Regions from separate parts of the Homo sapiens genome. Here regions 1 and 3 are each linked to region 2. Evidence: promoter capture Hi-C in 16 types of primary human blood cells and fetal thymus (Javierre and others, 2016). All regions are on one chromosome and are shown on one strand. Each heading gives the region's core, a stretch centred on a gene start or on the middle of the fragment in contact. The rest is flanking DNA. Distances are from core to core; before and after follow the strand shown. Region 1 holds the start of KTI12 (KTI12 chromatin associated homolog). Region 2 holds the start of ZYG11B (zyg-11 family member B, cell cycle regulator). Region 3 overlaps ZFYVE9 (zinc finger FYVE-type containing 9).

Region 1 (3,605 bases), core at 661-3,160, 690 kb after region 2:
TTTGTTTGAGACAGAGTTTCGCTCTTATTGCCCAGGCTGGAGTGCAGTGGTGCGATCTAGGCTCACTGCAACCTCCGCATCCCGGGTTCAAGCAATTCTCCTGCCTCAGCCTCCTCAGTAATGGGATTACAGGCACACGCTACCCCACCCGACTAATTTTTTAAAAAGTATTTTTAGTAGAGACAGGGTTTCACCATGTTGGCCAGACTGGTCTCGAGCTCCTGACCTCAGGTGATCTACCCTCTGCCTCCCAAAGTGCTGGGATTACAGGCGCGAGCCACCATGCCGGGCCTGTGTTTACATTTATTTAACCCTCACAACAACCTACAGATTGGTAAACCTGTGAAATAGCAGTTGTTATTTTATAGAAGGGGAAATTGAAGTACAGAAAAGTTACATAATTTGCCAGTAGTTACAACACTAGTAAGTGGAGGAGCCAAGACTTGAATGTTTTTTACTATACTGTACAAGAGAGATACAAAGACCCCAGTATATGTGCATCTACAATATACACACATGCACAGGCACACTCACATTTCTGCACCTACCATCCTATAGTGCTTGCTGTTTATACAAGAGATCCAACAGTTTCATGGCTCTGGGTCTCAAACCTACAATAATAGAGTTGCCAGATTGAGCAAATAAAAATAACGGATGGCCAGGCACAGTGGCTCATGCCTTTAACCCCAGCACTTTGGGAAGCCAAGGCCAGTGGATCACCTGGGGTCAGGAGTTTGAGACCAGCCTGGCCAACATAGTGAAACCCCGTCTCTACTAAAAATACAAAAATTAGCCAGATATGGTGGCGCACACCCATAGTCCCAGCTACTTGGGAGGCTGAGACAGGAGAATCGCTTGAACTCAGGAGGTGGAGGTTGCAGGGAGCTGAGATCATACCACTGTGGTCCAGGCTGGGTGACAGAGCGAGGCTCCATCTCAAAAAATAATAATAATAAAATAAAATAAAGGATGCAGGCCAGGCACCTTGGCTCACACACCTGTATTCCCAGTACTTTGGGAGGCAGAGGTGGCACAATTACTTGAGCCCAGGAGTTTGAGACCAGCCTTAGCAACATACAACCTCATCTCTAAAAAAGAAAAAATAAATAATAATAATAAATTAAAGATGCCCAGTTAAATTTGAAGTTTAGATAAGCACCAAATAATTTTAAATATGTCTATGCAATATTTGGGACACACTTAAGCTTAAAAATGTTTTTGGTGTTTATCTGAAATTCAAATGTAACTGGGCATCCTGTATTTTATCTGGCAACCCTACTAAGGAGAAAAATTCCTATTTGTCTTTCAAGTTCTAAGTCAAATGACTATTTCTACATAAAGTCTTCAGTGATTTCTCTGGGTAGTTTGTTTTTCCCTTCTGTTCTTTTATAACCTCACCTGCATCTATCCATTATAGTATTTATTACTCTGATTGTAGGCGCCTGATCCTTCCCATTCAGACCTTTTATCTTTTGTGGGGAAAGCGTTTTATGTTCATCTCTGAATTCCCAACCTTGGAGATGTTGAATGATTGAAATGGTAATTGAATAAACATTTACTGAGAGCCAGTAGGTTTAAGAGGAGGAATGAAGGAGAACCAGCATTTATTAATTGCCTTCTATATGCTAAATATAGTGCTGATTGCTTACAATATTTAATGCCCCTTAGGCCTTATTAATAAAATGGACGGGCAGTCTTTCGCTGCAGGAAGATCACATTCTCCTGAGGCCTATAACATTTGGCATAAATAACTGATGCCATTATAGTCTCTGTATCTCCTTTCTGAGAAAGCTGAACCTGGGCCTAGCTGGCGTAGAACTCCTGTTTCCATAGAAACAAGAGGGTCTGTAAAAGTCAAGGGAGACAGGAAGAGCAGTTTGCACTTCCGGCTTACGTCGGAGACGCGTACAACCCGGAAGTTGGCGCAGCGCGGTTGCCAATGGTCGCTCCCTGAGAGGATGCCGCTCGTGGTGTTTTGCGGGCTGCCGTACAGCGGCAAGAGCCGGCGTGCTGAAGAGTTGCGCGTGGCGCTGGCTGCCGAGGGCCGCGCGGTGTACGTGGTGGACGACGCAGCTGTCCTGGGCGCAGAGGACCCAGCGGTGTACGGCGATTCTGCCCGTGAGAAGGCATTGCGTGGAGCTCTGCGAGCCTCCGTGGAACGGCGCCTGAGTCGCCACGACGTGGTCATCCTGGACTCGCTTAACTACATCAAAGGTTTCCGTTACGAGCTCTACTGCCTGGCACGGGCGGCGCGCACCCCGCTCTGCCTGGTCTACTGCGTACGGCCCGGCGGCCCGATCGCGGGACCTCAGGTGGCGGGCGCGAACGAGAACCCTGGCCGGAACGTCAGTGTGAGTTGGCGGCCACGCGCTGAGGAGGACGGGAGAGCCCAGGCGGCGGGCAGCAGCGTCCTCAGGGAACTGCATACTGCGGACTCTGTAGTAAATGGAAGTGCCCAGGCCGACGTACCCAAGGAACTGGAGCGAGAAGAATCCGGGGCTGCGGAGTCTCCAGCTCTTGTGACTCCGGATTCAGAGAAATCTGCAAAGCATGGGTCCGGTGCCTTTTACTCTCCCGAACTCCTGGAGGCCCTAACGCTGCGCTTTGAGGCTCCCGATTCTCGGAATCGCTGGGACCGGCCTTTATTCACTTTGGTGGGCCTAGAGGAGCCGTTGCCCCTGGCGGGGATCCGCTCTGCCCTGTTTGAGAACCGGGCCCCACCACCCCATCAGTCTACGCAGTCCCAGCCCCTCGCCTCCGGCAGCTTTCTGCACCAGTTGGACCAGGTCACGAGTCAAGTACTGGCCGGATTGATGGAAGCGCAGAAGAGCGCTGTCCCCGGGGACTTGCTCACGCTTCCTGGTACCACAGAGCACTTGCGGTTTACCCGGCCCTTGACCATGGCAGAACTGAGTCGCCTTCGTCGCCAGTTTATTTCGTACACTAAAATGCATCCCAACAATGAGAACTTGCCGCAACTGGCCAACATGTTTCTTCAGTATTTGAGCCAGAGCCTGCACTGACCAGAGGAGGTAGGGGGGAAGCCATGGCTTCTGATCTCCACTCCACTTTATTTCTCTGGGAAAAATAGGCTGCAGGTCTCCAGAGCATATCGATGCAGTACTGTACTAGAGCTGTTGTGACTGATTCACTCAAACTTTCCTGCATACCCCTGTGCCAGGCCTTGGGTTTACAGCATAAGTTCAGACTAAAGAGAATGGAGAACTATTGTGGTGCAACCTGGCAAATCCCTCAGAGGACAGAGCTAAGGTGGACAGGGATTACCTAGATTGGATCCTACTTGGGCTATCACAGAGCATTGACCATTGGCTTCCCTCATCTGAGGCGTGGGAGAGCAGACTGGATAGATGAGAATTGTTTTAAAACAATTGTGAACAGAAACTGAAGATGGTACAGTTCTACATCTGCACCTGCCCTTTTTTCATACCACAAAAGTATTTTTTGAGTACTGTACTGACTTTTTGCTAGTTTCTATTCTGGGACCGAGTTCACAGATAAATCCATTGGTTTGTATCCTTGAGAAACTTTGTTTTTGTGGAAGTAAGAAAGTTATCTACTAGATTATTTCCTCTAATAAAATCTTT
Region 2 (3,673 bases), core at 980-3,479:
TGGAAGGGCCCACACTTTCAAAAATCTAGCAGTGTAATGTCTTAGGTAGGATAGCTCTTTATTCTGAAAAGTATATCATCATACCTCACTCAATATCATTTTTGCATCAAAATTAAGATTCTCTGCCCAGGCGTGATGGCTCATGCCTGTAATTCTAGCACTTTGGGAGGCCAAGGTGGGAGGATGGCTTGAATCCAGGAGGTCAAGACCAGACTGGGCAACACAGCAAGACTCCATTTCTACAAAAAGTTTTACAAATTAGCGGGGCACGGTAGTCCGTGCCTGTGGTACCAGCTACTTGTGAGGCTGAGGTGGGAAGATCACTTGACCTCAGGAGTTCAAGGTTGCAAAGAGCCATGATTGTGCCACTGCATTCCAGCCTGGGCCACAGAGCAAGATCGTCTCCAAACAACAATTCTCAAACTCACTCTTTCTGTGTAGTCCACTAGTTACCTCAAATTTCAGTTTAAGTTTATATTAGTCAGGTGGGAAATGAGACCATAAAGTGAATCATTCAAGCACCTAGCTGGCCTGGGCACTTGGAATAATAAGTAAGGAACGGTTGCTACCTAGAACTTACATTCCACAGGGAGAAACAGGTTAGCATACAACAACAGTGTGTGAAAGTGAAGGAGACAAACACAGGAAAATGACAGACTAAAAATGCAGGAGTGAGTTAGGGAAAATTCATAGATTAAATAATTTTATAGTATATTACTTTTCTAAAAAACTGCTGGAGGGAAAAAAAGAAACTGACTAACCTCCTAGGGGAACATAATTATCAGGACTTAGTTTTGCCTTATTCCTCCCAGAGACCAAAATTTAGCTTGTTGCATATGATGGAGCAATGTTTTCAATAAATGTACAGCAAACCACTTATAACCCAACTCAATGAAAAAACCAACTGAAGCCTCAACCTATTTTCAGACAGAAAGAAAATTTGCAAATATAAGGTTCTCCCAACTAAAGGCAGACAGGGCAAAACAAATGAACTCTTTAGAAGGTTTAAAGAGACTGTCACAACCTGCCAACCTGATTGTCAGTCCTCAAATGCCCTTGGTCTCTGCCTCCAAATGAAAACAAATCATTTGTTTTTAGTAATAATAGCCAAGCTTGTAAATAAGTATTTTTAAACTTCTCCAACTGCACCTCCACATTAAAAGATGCTCAAAATAAAAAAAATTCAAAACATTTTTTAGCTATTTCTGTCAAAAGACTAGATCTCTCCTGAGGTCACAGTATGCATGCTGGCCCTCACTTCACTGCTCTGTAACACACCACCACTTCGATTTTGCAATGACACTAGGTGAATAGGCTTCCAGGATCTCTTCAATGCCTCCAAAAACGAAAAGGAAGAAGCAAACCTATAAATCCCTATCTGCCCGCCCTACAGCTCCCGGGAAGCAACAGTCCTCAAATTGTTCCTGCTTAGACCCCTGAAGCCCGTAGAAGGAAATGGGGACAGCTGCGACGGCGAACCGAGCGAGGACATCCGATAAGGGAAGAGGAAACGTGGATGGAAGAGGACGAAGGGGAGAAGGAACACGGAGAGAAGGGGGCAGTGGAGATAAAATGGTGAAGAGGGGTGAGAAGAGCAAGGAAGAGCAGCGAAAACTAGGGAGGAAAGGGGGGAAAGTAAAAATCACATAAGAGGAAAAAAGGCAAAATGATAGAGGAGAAAGAAAGGAAGGGTTAGGGTTAAAGGACAAGGAGTGGGCGACAAAGGGAATGCGAAAAAGGCTGTCACTGGGGGTGATAAAAAGGATGTCATCGGGGAGAAGGGAGATTCAGGGGGTGTCACCTAAAGGGGTTCACCGAAGCAGGTGAATGGGGAAGGAGGAGCTGAACACCGAGGGGGCGGTAACGAGGGAGAGAGGTAAAGGCAGGGAGCCCGAGGGGACACCAGAGACAGGGAGGGGCAAGACCGCAGGGGCCAGCGCGACGGGCGGGGGCTAGGGTGGCGGGCGGCTGCGGCTAGGGCAGGCCTTGCTCCCTCACCATGGCTGCGCCGGCCTGGTCCTCGGGCATGCAGCCTCCGTCCTGGGTGCGGCGGCGGGCCGGACCGGAGCCCGCCCCCAGGCTGAGCCGGCGCGGAGGCTCCAGGAGGCTCCGGCGAGCGGCGGCTCCGGGCTTGGCCCAGGCCTCGGCCTCTTTCCCTCAAGCTAGGAGCGTAGCAGTAGCAGCCGCAGCCGCAGCCGCAGCCGCAGCCCGAACCAGAGCGCAGACTCCGCCCCCGCGAGGACCCGCCCGGGCGCGCGAGCCCGCGCCTGGACCCGCCTCCGCTCTCAATGCGCAGACTCAGACGAGGGGGTCCCGCCCCCCCCAGCCCGACCTCCAGCTTCTCCCCCTCCCAGGCCCTTAAAGGAGCCACACACCCCCAAATCCTAGCATCCCTTCAAAATATGAAAAGCTTTAAATATTACATCATGACGAGAGATTAGAGCATCGCTCACTTCGGTCACCTATAGACTCCTCTGTCATTCACCATCATTCTCTAAGATTTGGGCTTCTGGTTCACTGTCATTCATTACTACTATTGTCATAACTCTTGGTTATTTCAAAATTCGCTTAATTCTTCCAATCCTCTGGCCTCTCAGATTCTTCTCTAGGGATCATTCTTGGCTCAGCCTCTCACTCTCATGCTCATACGAATAATTGTAACTTCTCTACAATCTCAATTTTAATCCTCTAACTCCCATTGCAACCTTCTTCCTTTCTTTCTTTCTTTCTTTCTTTCTTTTTTTTTTTTTTTTTTGAGATGGAGTTTCGCTCTTGTTGCCCAGGCTGGAGTGCAGTGGTGCGATCTTGGCTCACTGCAACCTCCACCTCCCGGGTTCAAGTGATTCTCCTGCCTTAGCCTCCCGAGTAGCTGGGATTACAAACACCCGGCACCACACCCGGCTAATTTTTGTATTTTTAGTAGAGAAGTGGCTTCACCATGTTGGCCAGGCTGGTCTCGAACTCCTGACCTCAGGTGATCCGCTTGCCTTGGCCTTCCAAAGTGCTGGGATTACAGGCGTGAGCCGCTGCGCCCGGCCACAACCTTCTTCCTTTCTAGCTCACTCTGTCTGATAATACTCCAACTCCAAAAACTTCAACTCCAAGACCCCAAATCCATTGATCCAACTACCTTTTCGCTATTCCTCCCCACGCTGGCCTTATGTACTCACTTTCTTCCTGAAACAGCTTAGATTCTATCGTCCGTCATGAAATGGAATCTAATAGAATCTAAGCTGTTTGGGGAAGAAAGTGAGTACATGAGGTACATGAAGTCGATTTCTTCAGTATTACCTTCATTTCTCTAGTCGTTCTCTGCTTTCTTTGTACTGACAGAACTCCAGCAATGGAGTGGGTGGAGAAAAAGCCAAAAGTGGTTGACTGACTCCCCGTAAATTTGAGATCATTATTCTCAAGAGGCCATAATGAGTGGCTACCCTACCACATTTCTCCAGTTTCACACACTCTCCCACCTTGCTACATAACTATTTCAAGTCTCCTGTCTCTTCAAACCTCCGACACTTCCTCCCTCATCTCATTTAGCTGATGATTTTGCTTCTAATTCACAAGAAAATCAAACAAACCAAAAAGAACATCTACAAGTTCCCAGCACCCACCATGACTTCCAACGAACCTGTAACTCTGCTTTGATGCTCTCTCTGCCTTCCTTTCCTTA
Region 3 (3,411 bases), core at 291-2,790, 580 kb after region 2:
TTGGCCAGGCTGGTCTCGAACTCCTGACCTCAGGCGATCGGCCCACCTCAGCCTCCCAAAGTGCTGGGATTACAGGCGTGAGCCACAGCGCCTGGCCTACAACTTTTATCCTCAGGCCAAAAACATTCCCTATCATCAAAGAATCTGGCAATGCATCTGCAAGTAAAAGCTTCAACAATTTACCTAATGACTGTAAATAAAAGTTATTAACCAGGAGCATGGTGGCTCATGCCTGTAATCCCAGCACTTTGGGAGGCTGTGGGTGGATCATTTGAGGTTAGTAGCTCCAGACCAGCCTAGCCAACATAATGAAACCTCGCCTCTATTGAAAAAAAAAAAGTTATGAACCGCAGATAGAGCCTTACATTACCACTTCACACTCATTAGGATGGTTATAATCAAAAAAACAGATAACAAGTGTTGGTGAGGACGTGAAGAAATTGGAACCTTCATACAACGCAGGTGGGATTGTAAAAAGGTGCAGCTACTTTGTAAAAACAATCTGATAGTTTCTCGAAAGGTTAAACATACAGCTACCATTTGGCCCAGCAATTCCATCCCTATAAATACCCAAGAGAAATGAAAGCATATTTCCACACAATAATTTGCACATGAATGTTCACAACAACATTATTTATAGTAGCCAAAAAGTGGAAACAGCCCTAACTGATGAATAAAATGTGGTATTTCCATACAATGGAATATTATTCAGCAATAAAAAGAAATGAAGTACTGACACTTGCTACTGAACCCTAAAACTATTATGCTAAGTAAGAGAAACCAGTCATATATCGTATGATTCCACTTACATGAAATGTCTCGATAGGCAAATCCATAGAGGCAGAAAGTACATTAGCGGTTGCCTAGGGCTGGGAGGATTAGGGAGATCCTGGGAGTGACTGTTAATGGGTACAAGTTTCTCTTTGGAGTGATTAAAATGTTCTAAAATTAGACAGCAGTGATGTTTGCACAACTCTGTGAATATATAATACTGTTCTAACTTTTCCAGTTCCGTAAATGGGCTATTTACCATAATTTAAAAGAAAAATATAAGTATTAATTAATTTGTAAAATAGAAAATACTTTATGCGTTGAGTATCCCTTATCTAAAATACTTGGAACCAGAAGCATTTGGGACAGATTAGAATTCTGACGCAAGTCTAAACACAAAATTCATTTGTTTCATGTATACTTATACGCATAGCCTAAAGGTAACTTTATACACTATTTTTAATAATTTTGTACATGAAACAAAGTTTTGACCATTTTGATTGTGACCCATCACATGAGATCAGGCGTGGAATTTTTCCACTTGTGAGATCATGTCAGTGCTCAAAAAGTTTTGGACCTTTGAGCATTTCGAATTTCAGACTTTTGGATTAGGGATGCTCAACCTGTAAAAACAGCACTTTTCAAATTATTTTATTAAATAAATTTTACCATTATAAAATATAAGGTATTCTACTACATAACTAAATGCTAATTCTACTGACACCTTGGTTCCTCCTTAATTTAGCAATCTCTAATACTTCAAAATTAGATTATGCTGATTTTACTTATTAATAGTAAACTACATAAATAATTAACAATCTTTCAACCTCTTTTTTTCAAAACTCAGAGAAATATATTTTCCAATTCCAGAGTCCGGATTTACCAGGACTCATGGGACTGAACTATAGCTCTGATTTACCCATTATATCATTTAATACTTACAATAATCCTGTAAGGTGACTATTATCAGTTGCATTTTATAGAAAAGAAAATTGAGACTTAAAGAGGGTAACAAACTTGTCCAAGGTTATAAGAAAAGACTGGCAGGCTATAAAATCTAGTTCTAGCCTACTGTAGTTTATAAGGAAAAATCTATGTTCTGAAAACAGTTCTTAAGTAAATTTAATAAATTGAGAGTTTTTTGAAAACTAAATATATGAACTATTTCTATTCAGTGCCTGCAACTACATCTTTTCCAATGATTATTATATACAGTTGTCTCTCTGTATCTGTGGAGGACTGGTTCCAGGAACCCACAGGATACCACAATCTGTGGATGCTCAAATCCCTTATATAAAATGGCACAGTATTTGCATATAACCTATGAACATCCTCCTGTATACTTTAAATAATCTCTAGACTACTTACAATGCCAAATACAATTGTAAGTGCTATGCAAATCAACTGTTATACTGTATTGGGTTTTTATTTGTATTATTTTTATTATTGTATGATTACTTTTGTGTGTGTGTGTGTGTGTGTGTGTGTGTGGATATTTTTGAGCCTTGGCTGGGAGGACCCACAGATACAGAGATCTGACTGTACTAAGAATGTTGCTCTATATAATGCAGGTCAAGTATACACAAGTAAAATTAAAGATCAATGTAAAACTCTGAAAATAAATAATTTGCAACAAGTGTACCCTATATAAAGGGAATACTAATTTATTGGCTAAAAATGAAATGGAAAACATACTAAAATCGAAATTGTTTTCCATAAAAAATTCCAAATCCCAAAAGTAGACTTAGTCTAAAAAAAATAAAGCAACCAAGTTTTAAGTCATGCAGAAATCCCAATGCCTGATTTTTGTTTTTCCCAAAAGGAAGAAAGAAATGTACATTTATTGAGCACCTCCTACATGACAAACACTGAGCTAATTGCTTTCGGTTACTTTTATCTCATGGAACCTGTTCTACTTTGCTAGGAGGGGTAGTGTTACCCCAATAGTACATAAGAAACTCAGAATCTAAATGTCACATCGCTTTAAGAGGTGTAGTAAGGATTCCTGCTCACATCTGACTCCATACTCTGTACCACATTATGCAATTAACAACCATAAAACACACATATATACGCCATATCTTTAGGAACATAAGAACTTAAGCTAAAATCCAGGCAATTATCTTTTAAACAAGCTTTGTGCCTTGCAACCAGTCTGTGGCTAGCACGTTTACAAGGTGCCACATAAAAGTTTACTGAATGGAATGAACAGTGGTAGCTTAGCAACAGAGGAAGGAATTATCATCTCTACTCACTCTACCTTTCTAAAAGAGTTAATAGGAAACTATCACCAGGCAATATAAGCAATTATTTCCTTAAAGAAAACACTGAATCAGGAATTGGAAGAGAAAGGAATAATCATACATAAAAAGTATTATCAATGTCCTTAAACGGCAAGATGAGACACAGAAGCCTTAAACAGAGATTTAGCACGTTCCACTCAATTTCAACACTTGTCTGACCTACCTTGTAACAGTTAATTAAAGGTATCCTGCTTCCACAGGACAAGTTTAGTAGAGCCCTTGGTCATTTTTGTGTTTCCTGGAATACCTATAACAGGACCTGGCACTTAAAAGCCAAAATTGTATAAAAATCTTTTACAGATTATAATACCTTTTCAGATTTATTTATCCTAAAAGC

Evidence for each region. Contacts are between HindIII fragments. The CHiCAGO score rates a contact against its expected background, and 5 or more counts as called.
Region 1: a contact is called between the fragment with the promoter of KTI12 here and the fragment with the promoter of ZYG11B in region 2, in 5 of 17 cell types (fetal thymus, total CD8 T cells, activated CD4 T cells and 2 more). The highest score is 8.1, in fetal thymus.
Region 3: a contact is called between a fragment that was not itself captured here and the fragment with the promoter of ZYG11B in region 2, in 2 of 17 cell types (total CD8 T cells and total CD4 T cells). The highest score is 6.4, in total CD8 T cells.

Annotation. Positions count from the first base shown.
Region 1 is chr1:52,032,115-52,035,719 of GRCh38, reverse strand. KTI12 (KTI12 chromatin associated homolog) reads left to right here and starts at 1,910. Exons shown (of 1, transcript NM_138417.3): 1 at 1,910-3,605. The coding sequence starts at 1,959. The coding sequence ends at 3,023. All of the region lies in intron 2 of TXNDC12 (thioredoxin domain containing 12), which reads left to right. RefSeq lists an enhancer at 1,904-2,203. The HindIII fragment of the contact is 2,616 bases long and covers 1,208-3,605 here.
Region 2 is chr1:52,725,009-52,728,681 of GRCh38, reverse strand. ZYG11B (zyg-11 family member B, cell cycle regulator) reads right to left here and starts at 2,229. Exons shown (of 14, transcript NM_024646.3): 1 at 1,999-2,229. The coding sequence starts at 2,028. RefSeq lists a silencer at 1,839-2,418. The HindIII fragment of the contact is 1,298 bases long and covers 1,115-2,412 here.
Region 3 is chr1:52,144,879-52,148,289 of GRCh38, reverse strand. All of the region lies in intron 1 of ZFYVE9 (zinc finger FYVE-type containing 9), which reads right to left. All of the region lies in intron 4 of LOC107984956 (collagen alpha-2(I) chain-like), which reads right to left. Among named protein-coding and RNA genes, the nearest start is that of ZFYVE9, 4.5 kb to the right of the region's middle. RefSeq lists an enhancer at 1-429. The HindIII fragment of the contact is 2,737 bases long and covers 172-2,908 here.